Regions from separate parts of the Homo sapiens genome. Here region 1 is linked to region 2. Evidence: promoter capture Hi-C in human tissues and cell types (Jung and others, 2019). All regions are on one chromosome and are shown on one strand. The core of a region is centred on a gene start or on the middle of the fragment in contact, and the rest is flanking DNA. Distances in the headings are between cores, read along the strand shown.

What was found. The method cuts DNA at HindIII sites, captures the fragments that hold promoters and counts their contacts. A contact is called where the count stands out against the background at its distance.
Region 1: a contact is called between a fragment that was not itself captured here and the fragment with the promoter of VPS72 in region 2, in 1 of the 25 tissues and cell types used here (liver).

Annotation. Positions count from the first base shown.
Region 1 is chr1:151,774,621-151,777,320 of GRCh38, reverse strand. TDRKH (tudor and KH domain containing) reads left to right here. Exons shown (of 13, transcript NM_001083965.2): 7 at 722-882; 8 at 1,053-1,225; 9 at 1,437-1,501; 10 at 1,778-1,929; 11 at 2,155-2,256; 12 at 2,515-2,611. Among named protein-coding and RNA genes, the nearest start is that of OAZ3, 9.3 kb to the right of the region's middle. The HindIII fragment of the contact is 4,030 bases long and covers 1-2,700 here.
Region 2 is chr1:151,188,899-151,191,598 of GRCh38, reverse strand. VPS72 (vacuolar protein sorting 72 homolog) reads left to right here and starts at 1,402. Exons shown (of 6, transcript NM_005997.3): 1 at 1,402-1,594. The coding sequence starts at 1,478. RefSeq lists enhancers at 1,258-1,317, 1,358-1,427. The HindIII fragment of the contact is 20,238 bases long and covers 1-2,700 here.

The sequences.
Region 1 (2,700 bases), core at 9-2,508, 590 kb before region 2:
GTGCACACCACCACATCCGACTGATTTTTGTATTTTTTAGTAGAGATGGGGTTTCACCATGTTGGACAGGCTGGACTCGAACTCCTGGCCTCAAATGATCCACCCACCTTGGCCTCCCAAAGTGCTGGGATTACAGGCATGAGCCACCATGCCCAGCCTAGACATACTTTATCAACAAGTAAAATTCTCAGCCAGATTTTATATTGCCTTTTTCATTACTGTTTTTAAAAATCATCACTATTGAAAAGGCTGTGAGCTTTCTCTTCTGTACATAGGTTTTGGCGTGGGCAAAGAGGACCTGGATTCCCAAGAAGCTCACAGACTTGTCCAGGGTCATGTAAAGAGTCAGTGGTAGAATGGGATCTGGAACAGGTCCATGTCCGTCACTGTCCATGTAAAGATTGCTGTCCATATACCTTTTTACTGATCCATGCTGTAGCTAGCATATGGAGGTTTACCTTCTGTATAATTGGTGACCGATTTGACTATGTAGCACATGACAAAGAATGTAAGCTGTTATTACTCAGTTACATGGAAAGGTACAAAGGATAGCTTAGTATCTTTCTTTAGGATATTCTTGTTTGATTCATCCAGTTGCCTCTCCTGCCATTTTAAAATGGTAACAGCCATTGGTATTTGTACCTCTCACTACCCTGGTTAGTCTCTTCATTCCAACCAGAGATGGGTCTGATGTGGCCACCATCCTTATCTCTGTGTTCAGTCCCCAGTCCTGACTTCAGTTTTCATGCTGATGAGTACCTAGAAGTCTACGTTTCTGCTTCTGAGCACCCTAACCACTTCTGGATCCAGATCGTTGGCTCCCGCAGCCTGCAATTGGATAAGCTTGTCAATGAGATGACCCAGCACTATGAGAATAGTGTGGTGAGTTGCCATAGGGACAGGGCTGGGGTTTAATGAAAAGAAGGCATATCTTTTTCATTGTACTCTTCCTTTCCCTGTGGAGCAACTACTTTTCTTTCTTCCTCCTGCAATTCTGTTTATGAGCCTACCACTTTGTAACTCTCTGCCTTTCTCCTCCTCCCCACATACAGCCTGAAGACTTGACTGTGCATGTAGGAGACATTGTAGCAGCACCTTTACCTACAAATGGTTCCTGGTATCGAGCCCGGGTCCTCGGCACCTTGGAGAATGGGAACTTGGACCTCTATTTTGTTGACTTTGGAGATAATGGAGATTGCCCACTGAAGGACCTCAGGGCTCTCAGGTCAGTGCTGAGGTCAGCTCAATCCCAACTGCTGACTCAGTTCTGGCCATAGGGTGGTGAGCTGTTGGCAGTTGTCAGGGGGATTTGGAAGGGAACCTGTTTACAGAGAGCAGATGGTTATCGTCTCATGTTAGTTGGTTCTTTCTGAAAGCAGCAATGTAAGAAGATGTTTTTGGCCCCAGGATTCTAATTTTAGTTTCTTTTACTTCAGGAGTGACTTCCTAAGCCTTCCATTTCAAGCAATAGAATGTAGTCTGGCACGGATTGCTCCCTCAGGTAAATTGGTCATGCCATCTATTGAGCTTACCTCCAAATAGAATAACTTCATACAGTTCATTGGAAGGAATTCTCACATTCCCAGGCTTTTTGAATTCTGGGGACTCAGGTGCCTTTTCCTCACCAGCACTAGCAGCAGCCAGAAACTTGCCTGGCAGACCCAACCCAACCAGAGAAGACACAGGTGCCTTCCTGAGTAGAAAAGGGTAGTTCCAACTTCCCTCCAGGGTATAAGCCCCACCCCTATCAGCAGTAACCCCTACAATCTTTTGCCAGGTGACCAGTGGGAAGAGGAAGCTTTGGATGAGTTTGATAGACTCACTCATTGTGCTGACTGGAAGCCTCTGGTAGCCAAGATCTCTAGCTATGTCCAGACTGGGATCTCAACTTGGCCAAAGATCTACTTATATGATACTAGCAATGGGAAGGTAAGACTGGCATTCACTCACTGCTTGCCATATCTTCAGTATATTTATAGCCTAATTTACTTTTTCTTCCTCAGAAACCCTTATCTGATATTACTCTTACTGTAAGATCCTTCTCACCATCTCACCAAAGGAATGTCTTTAAAGTATCAGTCCTTCTGCCTTGTTTCCTCAAATTTGCCCTTGCTTACTGAGAGAACATCATTCCCTTTTCATTTTTCTTCTCAGAAACTTGATATTGGGCTAGAATTAGTACACAAAGGATACGCAATTGAGCTTCCTGAAGACATAGAAGAAAACAGAGCTGTCCCAGACATGTTGAAGGACATGGTGAGCTATTGTAGTTATATAGGGTGCTGCTTCCAGGCAAATCTAGCACATAGACACTAAGGGCTTCTAGTCCTGATACTGTGTTAGCTTTCCTAAGGACTTTGAGCTCCTCCAGTAGTTGACCAAAGGAGCATTTTGTCCCTCTTGGTAGCCAAATGCAACTGCCTTAACCAGGTCCTATGAGAAGAATGAAAGGGTGGCCTCTTTTTTCCTAAAAGCCAACATGTTCCTCCTTTTTTCCTGTTTTCATCCACTCAGGCCACAGAAACAGATGCCTCTCTCAGCACGTTGCTCACTGAGACCAAAAAGAGCTCTGGAGAGATAACACATACCCTGTCCTGCCTCAGCTTATCAGGTACAAGCAGTATTTCCTCCCTAGAGCATCTTTGGAGATTAACTTTTCTCATTCAGTCTTTCCAGAGTAGGGAGGTTAATTGAAGGCTT
Region 2 (2,700 bases), core at 153-2,652:
TTCAAGCAATTCTCTGCCTCAGCCTCTCGAGTATCTGGGATAACAGGCGCCCACCACCACGACCAGCTAATTTTTGTATTTTTAGTAGAGATGGGGTTTCGCCATCTTGGCCAGGCTGGTCGTGAACTCCTGACCTCATGATCCACCCCCTTCGGCCTCCCAAAGTGCTGGGATTACAGGTGTGAGCCACAATTTTGTGTCTTTTAACAAATCTTTCCCTGTCCCTTCCTTCCCCCTGCTCTTCCCAGCCTCCAGTATCCTCTGTTCTTTCACTTCTATGAAATCAACTTTTTAAAAGCGTCACATATGAGTGAGAACATGCAGTGTTTTAACTTTCTGTTCGTGGCTTAAGTCAGTTAACATGTCCTCCAGTTCCATCCATGTTGCTGCAAATGACAGGATTTTCTTCTTTTTAATGGCTGAAAAGTATTCCATTGTGTATATACACCCTATTTCCTTTATTCATCTGTTGTTGGACACAGAGATTGATTTCCTATTTTGGCTACTCTAAGTAGTGCTGCAATAAATATGGGGGTGCATAAATATGGAGTGCAGACGTCTCTTGGATATACTGATTTCCTTTTTTTTTTTCCTCCTAAATTGGCTTCCTCAGGTTGAATTATGTCCTTTCCTTTGGATAAATGTCTATGGCTGTGTTTTTAACCACAATACTATGCTTCCTTCCTCAAGGATTTTTGACTTTATCTTGTAGATGATGTGGAGCCATTAAAAATGTTTGAGGACAGGAGTGGCAAAACGTGGGTTTTTAGAAAGTTTCCTACTAGCAGCAGTGTAGAAAATGGACTGGAGCGGAGAGAATGACCTCTTCTAAAAGAAAATGTGAGCTGGGGGCGCAGGCTTATGCCTGTAATCCCAGCACTTTGGGAGGCCGAAGCGGGCGGATCACCTGAGGTCAGGAGTTCGAGACCAGCCTGGCCAACACGGTGAAAGCTGTCTCTACTAAAAATACAAAAATTAGTTGGGCATGGTGGCGGGCGCCTGTAATCCCAGCTACTCGGGGGACTGAGGCAGGAGAATCGCTTCAGCCCGGGGGACGGAGGTTGCAGTGAGCCGAGATCGTGCCACTGCACTCCAGTCTGGCGACAGAGCGAGGCGAGACTCCGTCCCTACGGAAAAAAAAAACCATATATATATATAAAATAAAAATAAATAAAATAAAATGTGTTGACTTAGGGTTATGGGGGTCTTCGTACCACCAAGTGGACTCATTGAGCAAGGGAGATCGCTGGGTACTAGAGCAAGCGGCCTAGAGCATCCGCGCAGGAGTAGGAGAGGCTGAAGAGTAAAGAGGGTTTAGAGGGTGGGACTGGGAGTCTCTCGACACTCTGTTACTTCTGCCTGTAAACGCCCGACTTCCGCCGCTGGTGGCCACCCGCAGGTAGTGATGTCGAGCGTCGAGCTCCCAAAACCGAGCTGGTGAGGGGCTGCAGGTGGCGGCGCAGTCTCGGTAGGCGGTATGAGTTTGGCTGGGGGCCGGGCACCCCGGAAGACCGCTGGGAACCGGCTTTCTGGGCTTTTGGAGGCAGAGGAGGAAGATGAGTTCTACCAGACGACTTATGGGGGTTTCACAGAGGCAAGATCCGGGCCTGGGAAAAGGGAGGGGAGGAGGCAAAGAGGAGCCCTGAAGGGAGAAACCCCGGACAAAGAAGAAGAGGGCGGGGAATAGAGAGGAGCTCTGGGAGCTGATACTCGAGTTGGGTGGGTGAATCGGAGCCGGGGGGCGAGGCGGGGGAACGGATAGTGTGGAGTCCTAGAAGGGAGAGCTCTGGATGGGGTCAAAGGGGCCTGAGACGGAGAAGCTCTCCGGAGGCACTCCAGAGAACAGAGAACGGCAGAAACCTACCGTATACTTGCGTGGTTGCATCTTTCACTGTACTTCTGACGTCCAGCATACACGAGGCACACACATAGTAGTAGACAGTTGCTCGATGTATACTCGTTGGCCCACTGCTGGATTATTCACCTGAGACATGGAAAGGAACCGCTCCAAAAGTAGAGGAGCTTAGCCCACTTCTTTTTCAGCTTTCAGGTCTCAGTGTAAATGTTTTCTCAGGAAGATAACCCTTCCTTGACTATCCTAACAAGTGTCCCCATTTATTTCTTCCACAGAACATATTTCAATTTGCAATTAGATTTGGTTTGCTTACTTGCTTATGCTTTTCTATTGCATTGTAAACTGTATAAAGTTAGAGATGGTCTGTTTTGTTCAACATTATGTGTGAGGTGTCCGGACTGGGCTGCCACTTGCTAAATTTTTATTAGTTGAATCTACCCGTTTATTAAATGTGTTGAGTACCCAGAGCATGCCATCGGTAATAGGTTGTTTTAGGCTCTAGGGAAACAGAATATTAAAAACAGTGCTCTGTCCTTACATACTCCATGCCCCAGTGGGGTAACTGCCTGGGTTAACAGTTAAAATACTGTGTGATAGGCCGAGCACAGTGGCTTTGGCCGGGCACAGTGGCTCACGCCTGTAATCCCAGCACTTTGGAAGGCCGAGGCGGGTGGATCACAAGGTCAGGAAATCGAGACCATCCTGGCCAACATGGTAAAACCCCCTGTCTCTATTAAAATACAAAAATTAGCCAAGCGTGGTGGTGTGCGCCTATAGTCCCAGCTACTCAGGAGGCTGAGGCAGAGAATCGCTTGAACCTGGGAGGAGGAGGTTGCAGTGAGCCG